Linked DNA regions of Homo sapiens: region 2 is linked to region 1. The links are contacts of gene promoters, found by promoter capture Hi-C in blood cells and fetal thymus (Javierre and others, 2016). All regions are on one chromosome and are shown on one strand. Each heading gives the region's core, a stretch centred on a gene start or on the middle of the fragment in contact. The rest is flanking DNA. Distances are from core to core; before and after follow the strand shown.

Region 1 (7,733 bases), core at 2,753-5,252:
TTATATTAGCAATGATCAAGGACCATACAAATATGTAATCTATAAAAGATCTATAATATTATATTTTCCTGATTCTAAGATGCCATACGTTTGAAGATACTACTTAATAGGTTTTTCAAGGGGAAAAAAAACCACACTGTCATACTGAATGTGTGCACTGATTTTAAGACATATCAATTTTAGTGGCATTAAACTGTAAGAGCCAAAAGTACGACTCGATAAATACAGTATTCATTTTAGCTCATCTCTTCAACCTTATCCCTAAAGCTAACTTTTCATATAATTTCATAATGGAAAAACAAAGTCACACATCTCTAGGTGGAAAAAAAGCAAAGGCCAAAGCAATGGACAAATGAGATTATCAGTTCTGACAGGAAAGCTCTGCGATGTAATTCAGGTTTCCTTTTCACTATCTTTTTTTTTTTTTTGAGACGGAGTTTCACTCTTTTTGCCCAGGCTGCAGTGCAGTGGTGCCATCCCGGCTCACTACAACCTCCGCCTCCCGGGTTCAAGCAATTCTCCTACCTCAGCCTCCCGAGTAGCTGGGATTACAGGCATCCGCCACTACGCCCAGCTAATTTTTTGTATTTTTAGTAGAGACAGGGGTTTCATCATGTTGGCCAGGCTGGCCTCAAACTCCTGACCTCGTGATTTGCCCGCCTCGGCCTCCCAAAGTGCTGGGATTACAGGCGTGAGCCACCACGCCCGGCCACTCCTTTTCACTATCTGATATTTTTAGCATTGTAAAGAAAAAGTCAAACTAAATGAAGATGATTACACATCCACAAAAGTAACCTGCTATTTCAGACTTCAGTCCAGTCATCTTCATATGAAACAGTAGGGCTACAAACAGACTTTCAAATGTCTATCCAGGCTAGACATAGCAGTTTCCAAGTGAAATGTTAATACTGCTCTACTCAAGGTTGTCACTTCTTTCTTTGCTCTAACATTGCGTTCAGAAAGCATAAATATAAACACCCTGGCCCTCTACTGCATCAAGGAAGACATTTTTTTAAAGACCAGATTCCCAGAGTATTTACTTGGACAATGAAGAGGATCCAAGTGAATGTGAATGGTAAGCAAGATGGGACGCGGAGAACACCTGGATACAAGTAAAATACACAGACTATTTAGTCTAATTTTAACACAGCGAACAAAAGATAATACGGATTCTGGGGGAAAAAAAGTATAGAGTGACAAATAAACATAAAACACTCAGAATGCCTGGCACATAGACAGACAGGTTTGCTATATGTATTATTATTACTAGCATTATAATAAATGAAAATTTACTCATTCATTGTTGACTATTATATCCTTGCATCTAATAGGGTATGAATACACATATTTATGGAATTAGAAATGTGTTGAATAAAGCAATATTTTAATAAATTACAACCCATTAATTGTCCCATGTAAGATGTATTTAACTGCTTTTGAATTATATGTAATTCTACAACCAAAAATCATTTATCATTTTATTTATTTTATTTTTGAGAGGGAGTCTCACTCTGTCACCCAGGCTGGAGTGCAGTGGGGCGATCTCGTCTCACTGCAACCTCGGCCTCCTGGGTTCCATCGATTCTCTTGCCTCAGCCTCCCGGGTAGCTGGGACTATAGGCATGCGCCACCATGCCCGGCTAACTTTTGTATTTTTTAGTAGAGACAGGGTTTCACCATATTGGCCAGGCTGGTCTCGAACTCCTGACCTCGTGATCCGCCCACCTTGGCCTCCCAAAGTGTTAGGATTACAGGCGTGAGCCACCTTGCCCGGCCTTAATTTTATTTTTTTTTAGATGGAGTCTCACTCTGTCACCCAGGCTGGAGTGCAATGGTGCAATCTTGGCTCACTGCAACCTCCGCCTCCCGGGTTCAAGTGATTCTCCTATCTCAGCCTCCTGAGTAGCTGGGACTACAGACACTTGCCACTCCACCCGGCTGATTTTTGTATTTTTAGTAGAGATGGGGTTTCACTGTGTTAGCCAGGCTGGTCTCGAACTTCTGACTTCAAGTGATCCACTCGCCTTGGCCTCCCAAAGTGCTGGGACTACAGGCATGAGCCATCATGCCCCGCCCATTTATCATTTTACATCACGTAAGTAAAATTTACAAAACGGTACAATCTTTTAATATTGGCTCCACAGATCTATTTAAGTACAACCATAGTCTAAAATAATTTTTCATTTTGCATGATGTATTAAAGACTTTCAGTATTGTAGTACTGATTTTTTAATGCAGTCTTAACTTTTTTAATGCTTTAAGTTAAGCATGAATGTACTCATAGGAACCTACAAGCTAGTATATCAACCTACCCCCATAAATTTGCAATTAGAAAAGAAAAATACATCAAGAAATATTTCAAATGATGATATACTGTAACCACAGACAGAACCAAGTAAACAAATGGAATTACATTCTTTCTCACCAACGACAAATAGCTTTGTTTTTGAAGCTGTTTTTAGTTAGAATGTCTTAAATTCAGACCAGCTTTAACACTCTGAAAACTCAATGGAAACAAATATGAACCAAGCCTGCATAGGGACAGGTCAGCAAGTCACACATCAGTAAACACTTCTTATGCTTAATTTTTAAAAATTGCTTTCCGCTGAATCCTTTAAACTCCTTCCTTGCACTCTTGATTCAGAAAGGCTTGAGTCGGCTGGACCCGTGGCTCACGCCTGTAATCCCAGCACTCTGGGAGGCCGAGGTGGGCGGATCACCTGAGGTCAGAAGTTCAAGACCAGCCTGACCAACATGGAGAAACCCCGTCTCTACTCAAAATATAACATTAACCGGGCGTGATGGCGCATGCCTGTAATCCCAGCTACTAGGGAGGCTGAGGCAGGAGAATCGCTTGAATCCAGGAAGCGGAGGTTGCGGTGAACCGAGATCGCGCCTTTGCACTCTAGACTGGGCAACAAGAACGAAACTCCGTTTCAAAAAAAAAAAAGGCAGGGGGGCTTGAGTCTAAATTAGATCGATTTACTATCACATCCACAGCTCCACTCATAAGGTAAAAAGTTGTGTTTTCCACCAGAATGCAAAAATCTAATTGCTTCTCACTTCCTGAAACTAGTAGGGGTTATCATGAAGTTACTATGCCATGAGTATTCCTTGTATTGTTTATCACTAACCGATAAGTTTCATCTAACTTCCCATTTTTGTCTCATACTTATCATTTTCTATAAATAAAATACTGCTGAATGAATTACTTATCTTAGCATTGATCCTGAAGGCGGCATGGAAACCTTTCTCCAGCTCACCCACTTTGACCCTCAAAGGCCTCCTGGCCTCATCATCTCCCAAAACTATAATAATTAGATGGCTCTGCTCTTTACCATTTTCCCCTGAACCTAAGTGAACTTGGCTTTCTTCAGTTTCTGCGTGTTCGCCCATTCCCAATTAATCTTGCCACGTTTATCCCAAATCCCTGCCTCTTTATCCCCGTGGTGAATGTTCCCTCGCCCCCTGTGCCTCTGGGTTTGTCAATATCCACAGCCCTTTAAAAATCGCATTCCAAATATGCACTGAGTACCTAAACCTGATCTTCGAAACCAAACTGCGCCTCCCACTTCACCAAGAATCTGATCAGGACCCTCCCTCTTTCCCAACCACTCCCGGCACAGCTTTCTCTCTTGCTACGGATTCCCAACTTTCAGCTCCACCTTTGCTTCCCAATTCGGCCGACAAAACTTCGGGCCATTTGCTCCGCTCTCCTGAATTTCTCCGCAGTCCTCTCCTGGGCGCCGCGCTCCTTCCCGCCCTGCCCGCGCGGCCGCCACCGCGACCGCGGCCACCAGCAGCTCCAACCCAGACCTCCAGCGCCCCCGCCCCTCCTTCCCGAGACCACTGGCAGCCGTTGGCGCGCTGGACCCCGCGGCAATCACCTTCTTCCTCCGCCATCGTTTCTGCGAAGGCTAGGGCGCCCTGCGGCTCCCGCGCGGCCCAGACTCTCCCTCCCTCCGCGTCGCCGAACCCCTCGGCCTCCGGGGGCCCGCTCCTGGCCGCCGCGCCCCCACTTCCTGACCCACCCCCCTCCGGTGTCGCCGCCAACCGCGTCCCCGCAGGCGGCCCGGGAACCAGAGTGTTGGGAGAGGGGAGCGGCCGGAGCGTTTCGCTGGGGCGCCGGGGCCTGCGCGGGCAGGAAGGAGACTCCACGCCGGGAGTGCAGCCCACAGCTGTAGCTCCTGGCCGCCGCCTGCCCTGGAAAGCGAGACTGGTGGGTCTCGCTGCAGCCCCGCCCCTCGTCCTACTCTTCCCAAAAAGTGAGGGCATGCTTTCCGCCACTTTTGTGACTCCGCGACTTAGCGAGTCAGAGACGATCATCAGCGACACCTCCCAGGTCCAGCCTCCATTCCCGCCCCATTTTACATGGAGGAAACTCAGATCTAATGTGGTGGAAGTCACAAAGCCGGTCAGAGGCAGAAGTGGAACCCGGTGCTCCAGAACTGCCATCGCTGCCTGCGTTCTCGCTGGGATTTCAGAGTGCAGCAGCAAAACGTTCTCAGTTGGCGCTTTGGTTTCGTAGGCCACTTGACCATTACAAGAAAGAAGCTTGTGCTTGGAACTTGTTTTAAATCACCAAAACTGGTTTAGCAAATATGTTGCATTTCATGATATTCTGGGGGGGGGGGCGGGGAGATAATACAATGGTCTGGGGTAGAGCAGTGTGCAATTAGATATTACAGAGCAATAGGGAATAATTTTAATTTGTTAAACTGTGTTTAACTTTCATTATATCTAGCATTCTTCAACAAACACCGGGATCTTTTCCCCAACAGTACTCAGAAGTAAATTTAGTAAATGAAATATACCCATTTTAGATCGGGAGAAACAGGCACGAGAATTCACTGAAGTCATGGGGTAATTATGGACACCCCATTATTAGCAGGCAGCAAGATTCTCCTAATAGCACCTTTAAGTTAGGATATTTGGGGAGAGGCTATCATTTTTCAGTGATGTGCAGAAACGGTTCCAGGAACTTTTTTTTTTTTTTTTTGAGACAGAGTCTCGCTCTGTCGCCCAGGCTGGAATGCAATGACTCGATCTAGGTTCACTGCAACCTCCGCCTCCCAGGTTAAAGCGATTTTCGTGCCTCGGCCTTCCCAGTAGCTGGGACTACAGGCGCAAGCCACCACTTAATTTTCATATTTTTAGTAGAGATGGGATTTCACCATGTTGGTTGGCCAGGCTAGTCTCCAACTCCTGGCCTCAAGTGATCCGCCCACCTTGGCCCCCCGAAGTGCTGGGTTTACAGGTGCCCACCACCACGCCCGGATAATTTTTTGTACTTTTAGTAGAGAAGTGGAGGGGTGTGGTTTCACCATGTTGCCCAGGCTGGTCTTGAAATCCTGACCTCAAGTGATCCACCGGCCTCAGCCCCACAAAGTGCTGGGATTACAGGCATGAGCTACCACGCAGGGCCTCCAGGAACTCTTTTTATGTCTGGTTCCCCGTAAAGATGTTTTTTGCCTTAAAACAACACTTTACCAGGAGTTAGAAACAGTGGACCAGAAAAGGCCTGGTGCCAGAGCCAAGAGAGCACAGAATATAAGGACCCTGAAAACCACAGGATATGGTAGGGTCCCTGGACATGAGCAACAGTACCTGAGTATGCTGCTTATCAGATCAGCTGACTGAAAGAGCTGCACCTCTTGGAAAACATATAGTAGCTATTGAGGTCTGCTGTTTTCTAAGTCTAGAGTCTTAATATCCTACAGTTTCTTCACGGTCACCTCAAGTTGACTAATGGACTAAATTTTAAGTTTGCCTGACCTCTACAATAACAGGGGAAAGAAAAATGATAGAAAAAAAATAGCTTCTTAAAATAACAAATGGAAATATAAGATAAGATAGAGATAATTATGCCCTAGTAGAAACATTCTTCTCTTGAACCCTAAAAACCCACATTAGGGCCGGGCACGGTGGCTCATGCCTGTAATCCCAACACTTTGGGAGGCTGAGGCAGGTGGATCACCTGAGGTCAGGAGTTCGAGACCAGCCTGACCAACATGGAGAAACCCCATCTCTGCTAAAAATACAAAATTAGCCGGGCGTGGTGGCGCATGCCTGTAATCCCAGCTACTCGGGAGGCTGAGGCAGGAGAATTGCTTGAACCTGGGAGGTGGAGGTTGCGGTGAGCCGAGATCATGCCATTGCATTCCAGCCTGGGCAACAAGAGCGAAACTCCATCACACAAAACAAACAAACAAAAAACACATAAGGATAATGAGAGTGGAGCATCTTATTCTCAAACCAGTGTAATCTTACTGTGAGAAAAATAGGCTGTTTTTATTAAAAATCTATATTTCATTCAAGAAGAATTAGAACCTGAACTACTCAAGATGTTGCCTTGCAGCAGGCATTACAGCTGAGTTTTCAGTAGGCCATTTCCTAATTCCTAAGGCCAGCTGTTTCCAGATGGCTAGTGGACATATGGTTGTAAGATGATTTCAGACGATACTCTGATTGTTTTATCACTGCAAAACCATGGGCTGCTAGTTTCTTATGCAAGATGTGAAGGAGCATTTCATTACATTTTGCGTCACCCTGACCAGTCCTAAAGAACCCAAATTTTCCCAAATTGTCTTTTACTTATGAGCTATTCAAAGAGCCGTGTGATTTTCCGCCTTCTCTAGAAGTTTGAGGACCTCTTCTCTATGCAATGGATATTTTAAGGACATAATGTGAAATGTTCTTTGTTTTAAAAAGTTAAGTCTTTAGCAAATGTAGTTTAGGAGGCTTTTATAGTAAACTGAGTAAGAAAATAAAGGCCTGGTATGAGGCAATGAAAATAAAAATGTTCAAAGAGAATGAATTCAAAAGATGCTGGAAATGAAATCTACAGGGCCTGATGACAAATTGGATGTGATAAATGATGAGTCGAACATGATTTCTGATATTTCCATCTTGAAATTAATCATGTGCTTTCCATGTTCCCAGGAAAAAGTGCTGCCAAGATGTAAGAACAATATAAAACAGAAGGCCTTAAAACTTCTCTACTTGAAACCAAAAAAATACATGCAGTCTATTTTTAAAACATTCTTCTGAGGCTGATCGAGGTGGCTCATGCCTGTAATCCCAGCTTTTTGGGAGGCCAAGGCCGGCAGATCGCTCGAGCCCAGGAGTTCAAGACCAGCCTTGGCAACATGGTGAAGCCCCGCCACTACTAAAAAATACAAAAAATAGCTGGGCATGGTGGCGTGCACCTGTAGTTCCAGCTACCTGGGAGGCTGAGGTGGGAGGATCACCTGAGCCAAAGAGGTTGAGGCTGCAGTGAGCTGTGATCAAGCCACTGCACTCAAGCCTGGCTGAGAATGAGACCCTGTCAAAAAAACAACAGCAGCAAAAAAACAAAAAACAAGAAACATTATTCTGGCATATGCTTCACCTCATTAGTAGTAAAAGAACATAATTAGTTAGAAATCCTTGTGTCGGTTCAGCTTCTATGAAAGATATGGAATTGTGTTTCATCTTTATTATGTAATAAAATATTAATTATCTGTTGATTAAAATCTTTTTTTTTTTTTTGAGACGGAGTCTCACTCTGTCATCTAGGTTGGAGTGCAGTGGTTCGATCTCGGCTCACTGCAACCTCTGCCTCCCGGGTTCAAGCAATTCTCCTGTCCCAGCCTTCCGAGTAGCTGGGACTACAGGTGCCTGTCACCACGCCCAGCTAAGTTTTTTCTATTTTTAGTAGAGATGGGGTTCACCTGTCCCAGCCTCCTGAGTAG
Region 2 (7,733 bases), core at 2,492-4,991, 150 kb after region 1:
TTTGTATTTTTAGGAGAGAGGGTGTTTCACCATGTTGGCCAGGCTGGTCTCGAATGCCTGACCTGACAAGATCCATTTGCCTCAGCCTCCCAAAGTGTTGGGATTACAGGTGTGAGCCACCGTGCCAGGTGTATTTTTTTTTTCTTTTGGTAAAGATGGGGTCTTGCTTTGTTGCCTGTTGCCCAGGCTGGTCTCCAACTCCTGGGCTCAAATGATCCTCCCACCTCAGCCTCCCAAAGTACTGGGATTACAGGCATGAGCCACTGCACCTGGCTGCTGTTTTAACCTAAGAAGTGAAGAAATTCTTAACCTAAGGAAATCCTAAAACCACTCACTAAGCAGTAGAATTAAAATGGGATAAGGCATCAAGCTTGATCAGTCAGTAATAAAGCTATAGGGCCCATGATCTGGTAGTGATACAACAATTCCAGTTTATAGTAAAGATCTGAAAGAATAGATGACCTTATGAAACTAACTATAAGTTTGTATAATAGGTTTAGCAATTAATAATTAATAAAGTATACATTTCCCCTCCAGCCTCCAGTTGACTCCCCAGTAGGTGGCAGTAGATTGCAACTGGGCCTTGAAATTGCCTGAGATTTTCATTTCTGGCCTTGTACTAATAAAACATTTGCCTGGCATCTAAATGTTCTTTTCTTTTCTTTTCTTTTTTAAGACGAAGTCTCCCTCTCTTGCCCAGGCTGGAGTGCAGTGGTGAGATCATAGTTCACTGCAGCTCAAGTAATCCTCCCTGCTCAGCATCCTAAGTAGCTGGGACTACAGGTGTGCACCACTGCACTTGGGTAATGTTTTTTTTTTTTTTTTTTTTTTTTTTTGGAGAAATGAGGTCTTGCTATAAAGTTTCAAGATGACTTTTGAAAGCCTCATTTCCTTTTTTTTTTTTTGAGATGGAGTCTTGCTCCGTTGCCCAGGCTGGAGTGCTGTGGTGCAATCTCGGCTCACTGCAACCTCTGCCTCCCAGGTTCAAGCGATTCTCCTGCCTCAGCCTCCTGAGTAGCTGGGACTACAGGCCTGTGCCACCAGGCCCAGCTAATTTTTTTTTTTTTTTGTATTTTTAGTAGAGACGGGGTTTTGCCATGTTGGCCAGGCTGGTCTGCAACTCCTGACCTCAGGCAATCCGCCCACCTTGGCCTCCCAAAGTGCTGGCATTACAGGTGTGAACCACCACGCCTGGCTGAAAGCCTCATTTCTTAAAAAAAATTAACAATGAACTTTATTAAAACAGCTGAATTTTTAAACTCATCATCTTGTTCACCCTTTATTTCTGCTATGGGTATGGACCAGAATTTTAGAGTGTCAAATAATCAGTAAACATTGAGTTCTACATGCTCATGCTAATCATTAGAGACCATTAATTAACCAAAATTTCATAACCTCCTTCCTTATAATGTGTATTCTCATTCCTTTCTTTTCCATTTCCACTGTCAAAAATCCAAATCCAGACTTTTAGCCCCCTCCTATGAATTATTTTTTATTATTATCATTTTTTTTTGTGAGACAGAGTCTCGCTCTGTCGCTCAGGCTGGAGTGCAGTGGTGCTTCTAATAATGTTCTTGTCCTCTGTTTGAAATACCCTTGTCTCCTCTTTGCCAGCTAACTCTATTCATCTTTCAGAACTTGGAAAAACTTTCCTGTTCACCACACCCAATAGGAGATAGGGGTTCCTGTATGCTATTACTGTGTATTTTATCATGTCACTTATTTTTGTATTATAATTAACCTTTCCTCCAGAAACTGCAGACCCTTTGAAGGAAGAGACTACATCATTTTCATGGTTGTATTCCCTTGCCTAATAGTAGCTGGATATGATAGGCTCTTTATGTATTTGTTGAATGAGTGAATAAATGAGAATTGGGATGGTCAATGACTCCTTATGGAAATGGAATTTGTTGTTTTTGTGCAGGCGGTGTTTTTTTGTGGTTGCTTGGTTGGTTGTTTTTTGAGACAGGTTCTCACTCTGTTGCCCAGGCTGGAGGGCAGTGGTGTGATCCCAGCTCACTGCAGCCTTGATCTCCCAGGCTCAAGTGATCCTCCCACATCAGCCCTCTAAGTATCTGGGACTACTGGTACAGCCACACACCTGGCTAATTTTTGTATTTTTTTGTAGAGATGGGGTCTTGCCATGTTGCCTAGGCTGGTCTCGGACTACTGAGCTCAAGCAATCCACCCGCCTCAGCTTCCCAAAGTGCTGGGATTATATGCATGAGCCATCTTGCCCAGCCTGGAAAAGAATTTGAACTAGATAGTTTCTCAAGAATACATAAGAATTAAGATGGTCAGAGAAGACGAGAGAGAGTTCAACACATTCAAGAGTATAACAATTTGAGCCAAGGCAGAAAGCCTAGTATGTTTAGTGAGTGGATGACTTTAAATGAAGGCGCTAAAGACAAAATGGAAGAGGTCAGTTGGGGTCAGATGGAGGAAAGCCTTGAATTCCACTGTGAAATGTGTCTTGTAACCTGGGAATGAACTAAAGAATTGAAACTGAGCACTGGCGGGGCGCGGTGGCTCATGCCTGTAATCCCCTTACTTTGGGAGGCCGAAATGGGCAGATCACTTGAGGTCCAGGAGTTCAAGACCAGCCTGGCCAACGTGGTGAAACCCTGTCACTACCAAATAATACAAAAATTAGCTGGGCATGGTGGTACACACCTGCAGTCCCAGCTACTCCGGAGGTTGAGGTGGGAGAATTGCTTGAACCTGGGAAGCAGAGGTTGAAGTGAGCCAAGATCATGCCACTGCACTCCAGCCTGGGTGACAGAGTGAGACTTAGTCTCAAAAACAAAAACTAAAAAGAAATAAAGGGGCCAGGTGTGGTGGCTCATGCCTGTAATCTCAACACTTTGGGAGGCCAAGAGGGGCGGATCACCTGAGGTCAGGAGTTCGAGACGACCCTGGCCAACATGGCGAAACCCCATCTCTACTAAAAATACAAAACTCAGCCAGGCATGGTGGCACACACGTGTAATCCCACCTACTTGGGAGGCTGAGGCAGAAAAATCGCTTGAACCTGGGAGGCGGAGGTTGCAGCGAGCCAAGATCGTGCCACTGCACTCCAGCCTGGGAGACAGAGACTCCATCTCAAAATTAATTAATTAATTAATTAAATTTTGTTTAGAAAAGGAAACTGAGCATTGACTATTTTGAAAGAAGAATAAAAGTAAAGAAAAGATTTATCAGAAAGTTTACTCTTCCCATGGTGTTTACAACTAATTGAAATACGAGACTAGAAGCAAAGAGGTCATTAGGAAAGTTTTTTTTTTTTTTTTTTTTTTTGAGACGGAGTCTTGCTCTGTCGGCCAGGCCGGACTGCAGTGGCGCAATCTCGCTTCACTGCAAGCTCCGCCTCCCGGGTTCATGCCATTCTCCTGCCTCAGCCTCCCGAGTAGCTGGGACTACAGGTGCCCGCCACCACGCCTGGCTAATTTTTTTATTTTTAGTAGAGACGGGATGGCCGTCAATCGGCCGGGCGCTGTGGCTACGCCTGTAATCCCAGCACTTTGGGAGGCCGAGGCGGGCGGATCACGAGGTCAGGAGATAGAGACCATCCTGGCTAACACGGTGAAACCCCGTCTCTACTAAAAATACAAAAAATTAGCTGGGCGTGGTGGCGGGCTCCTGTAGTCCCAGCTACTCCGGAGGCTGAGGCAGGAGAATGGCGTCAACCCGGGAGGCGGAGCTTGCAGTGAGCCGAGATCGCGCCACTGCACTCCAGCCTGGGTGACAGAGCGAGATTCCGTCTCAAAACAAACAAACAAACAAACAATAACCCTTTGAATCTGAAGACCAAAATTAAAGCAAAATAAAACACTCAAGGATTCCAAACACTTATGAAGTTTCTAAATGCACACTCTTAAACTCTGTACTTAAGCTGGGCATGAGTTGGTTAAATCTGTATTTTGTTTGTATTTTTTTAGAGACAAGGTCTCACTCTGTTGCCCAGGCTGTAGTGCAGTGGTGTGATCATGGCTCATAGCAGCCTTGAACTCTTGGGCTCAAGTGATCCTCCCTCCTCAGCCTCCGGAGTAGTTGGGACCACAGGTGCACACCACTGTGCCTGGCGAATTTTTAAATTATTATTATTATTTTTTTAATAGAGACAGGGCCTTGCTATGTTGCCATGGCTAGTCTCAAACTCCTGGCCTCAAGGGATCCTCCTGCCTGGGCCCCTCAAGGTGCTGGGATTACAGACATGAGCCACTGTGCCTGGCTATCTTTCTGGTATTTGTATTTTATTTCTGCAACACTATTGTTAGTTCATTTAAGATCATTATCATATTTCATTTGGTTGAAATGTCCCACTGAACCCATAGAAACACTTTCTAAGTAGTTGTTTCAATTTAGAATGGTTTGATTGCAAGAAACAGACTTGAGGTTTACAACAAGGAACATTAATCTCAAACAAGATTGGTAACATGGTTGAGCCTCCCTCAGTGAACCTGCTTCTGGACTCGGGGCAGCTTTGTGATCTCAGCATAGGTGATCATCAACAGTCATTCTTGTCTAGTCCTTTGTCATTAATTTGGCTCAGCTCCATTCCATGTATCTATATCCTCTGTCCTACTACCAGCTGGTAATTTCACTCGAGCCTCTCATTGTTCAGTCAGGTCACACGTCAGAAGTTGCTGGCCAATTGAGAGCTCCCTCCCCACCTTGCGCCAGGTGACTATTCTTGGCCAAATTAGCTGGAGATGGGAGACTAGGTGAAGTCCACTGCACAACCTGCAGAAGATTTACATAGGAGTAGACTCCCTGATGCAGGAGGGAAAGTGGATCCAGAGAGAGAGAGAGAGAGAAAGAGGGAGAGAGAAGAAGAGACAGAGAGCCCAATTAATACTTGCTCATCAAGTAACATAAAGTTCTTATGTAAAAGCAACTTTTTAGACAGCTCACTTCATGCTACCGGCCATCTTTAAATCTACCTAACCTTTGTATTTATGCTTAAAATTTTTGTTTTTATTTATTTATTTTTTTTTGAGACGGAGTCTCGCTGTCGCCCAGGGCGCGATCTCGGCTCACTGCAGGCTCCGCCCCCCGGGTTCACGCCATTCTCCTGCCTCAGCCTCCCGAGTAGCTGGGACTACAGGCGCCCGCCACCTCGCCCGGCTAATTTTTTGTATTTTTTTTTAGTAGAGACGGGGTTTCACCGTGTTAGCCAGGATGGTCTCTATCTCCTGACCTCGTGATTCGCCCGCCTCGGCCCCTCAAAGTGCCGGGATTACAGTCACGGCGCCCGGCCAAAAAAATTTTTTTAAAGAAAGAATAATCCAGCCAGGTGTAGTGGCTCATGCCTGTAATCCCAAAGTTTTGGGAGGCTGCGGTGGGAGGATCGCTTAAGCCCAGGAGTTCAAGACCAGCCTGGGGAACATAATGAGACCCCTGTCTTTACACACACACACACACACACACACACACACACACTAGCCAGATGTGGTGGTATGTGCCTGTAGTCCTAGTTATTAGGGAGGCTGAGATGGGAGGATTACTTGAGACTAGGAATTCAAGGTTACGGTGAGCTATGATTGTGCCTCTGCACTCCAACCTGAGCAACAGAATGAGACCCTGTCTCTCTCTTAAAAAAAGAAGAAACAAACAAACAAAAAATTCATAAGGCTTATGTCACTAGTTTTCAAGAGCATAGAAATAAAGTGAAGAGCAAGTTTAGATTAAGCTACAATTGCTTGTAATTAAGACCTAAAAAGTTACAGAAGTTTCTTTTCTGTGTACTTCTCAAGAGTTTATTGATTTATTATTTTAGAGGTGGGGTCTCACTCTGTGGCCCAGACTGGAAAAGGTTTATATTATGCCCCGACATGCATGGTTAAGCTCTAAGAGGCAGATAGGGTTTGCAGCATTTCCCAAATGATTTTTGATCACAGAAACCTTTTTTTCTGTGGAGCTTCTTGAGGGAACATGCTTTGAGTCAGTCTAGATCTGCTGAATATGGTACAGCAATTACATAAAGAGAAAAGGCCATGTGTAAGGCGTATGGTCTGCATACTGTGGGCTTGGTACTGGGTGGTGGAACTGAACCACAGAGCTTTGCCTGTCTTTGAAATAGATAGGATCCCAGAAAGGTGTGTTCATGGCTTTCTGAAAAAACATTTGGAAAATAGCTGGGGTCATTCAGTCTTTCAGGGCAGCTGGCACTAATGGGTATGCTTATTTTGAGATATGTCTGTATATAATAGTTTACAGTCTGTGTTTCTTGAATCTGTAGCTAATCTCTGGACTACATACTGAAGAATGATGTGGAAGTGTCACAGCAAACCCTTGGCCATAGAAAATTATAATCAAGTCTCATAGAAAAAGGTGGCAGCTGTTACTTTTGATTGGTGCCCTCAGAAAGGCAGGCAAATGAAGGCCCATTGTGTTCCTGATGCTGGATGAATGTCTTGCAGCTGGCAGTCTGCTAGACTCCCAAATCAGTTGTTCTTTTCCAAGAGAACTGTTGATGTACTTGGTCTCAGGAGAAGTTAAAATGCTTGGCAGTTCACTCAGACCTTCTTCTTGCTCTGTGTACTTGTGTAAATGTCAGTCACCTTGAAAGGGAGCTCATCTGTTATCAACATTGGAATTGTGGGCTGGTTACATTTCTTCTACCACCTTTGTCTTTTTTGTCAAGTTGCTCCTGGCAAGTATTCGGATTTTTATAAATTGCTTTTCACATTGAAGATAAATTTTGTTTTTCTTCAAATTGCTCTTTTCACTGTCAGGTGCTGGAAATCAAAGAAGGAAAGATACAGTAGCTGGTAAAATAGCAGTAGCTACTATGGGCTGGTTACAGAGCACTGTCCTGGGATACTTTATAATCTGATGAGCAAGAGAGGCAAAAATGAAAGAACAAAAACAGAAAAGTACAATATAAGCATTTGACATATAAATGATGTGCAATATATAATTCTATATGGGATCTGAAATAGGACAAAATAAATTAATTTGTTCAATAAGTATTTTTAGTGTTTAGTATGTGCCATGTACTAGGGATGTATTAATGAACGAGATACAATCACTACATGGGAAGCAGCTCAGAGGTTAGAAGAGGGACACTGACCTCTTCTGGCCACAAACAAGTTGGGTACTAAAGCTTAAGCTGTGGAATATACTCTGAAGTCACAAATGAGAGAACATCAAATCTACTGAGGGATAGGAGGAGCCATTGGGGGGAAGTAGGTATGTATATGCCATATTTGGTTTATGCATTTATTTGCTGATGGATATTTGAGTTGTTTGTACATTTTTGGCCATTGTAAATAGTGCTGCTATGAACATGCACATATAAGTATTTGTTTAAATACCTATTTTCAGGCCGGCACAGTGGCTCAAACCTGTAATCCCAGCACTTTGGAAGTCCATGTCAGGAGGACTGCTTGAGATTAGGAGTTAGAGACAAGCTTGAGCAACATAGTGAGACCCCCGCCACACAAACACCCACTCTAAACAATTTAAAAAATTAGCAAGACATAGTGGCATGTGCCTGTAGTCCCAGCTACTCAAGAGGCTTAGGCGGGAGGACGGCCTGAGCCCAGAAGTTCAAGGCTGCAGTGAACTATGATCATAACACTGAACCCCAGCCTGGGCAACAGAGCAAGATCCTGCCTCATTTAATAAATAAATAAATAAATACCCATTTTCAAATATTTTAGTATATACCTAGCAGTGGGACTTGGGGTTATATGGTAATTCTATGCTTAACTTTTTGAGGAACCATC

Evidence for each region. Contacts are between HindIII fragments. The CHiCAGO score rates a contact against its expected background, and 5 or more counts as called.
Region 2: a contact is called between a fragment that was not itself captured here and the fragment with the promoter of DPY19L4 in region 1, in 1 of 17 cell types (megakaryocytes). The highest score is 6.6, in megakaryocytes.

Annotation. Positions count from the first base shown.
Region 1 is chr8:94,716,169-94,723,901 of GRCh38, reverse strand. It overlaps DPY19L4 (dpy-19 like 4), which reads right to left and starts at 4,002. Exons shown (of 19, transcript NM_181787.3): 1 at 3,888-4,002. The coding sequence starts at 3,903. RefSeq lists a silencer at 3,875-4,194 and an enhancer at 3,955-4,909. The HindIII fragment of the contact is 11,065 bases long and covers 1-4,556 here.
Region 2 is chr8:94,567,150-94,574,882 of GRCh38, reverse strand. It overlaps VIRMA-DT (VIRMA divergent transcript), which reads right to left. Exons shown (of 2, transcript NR_183271.1): 2 at 4,233-4,773. Among named protein-coding and RNA genes, the nearest start is that of VIRMA-DT, 17 kb to the right of the region's middle. The HindIII fragment of the contact is 6,738 bases long and covers 373-7,110 here.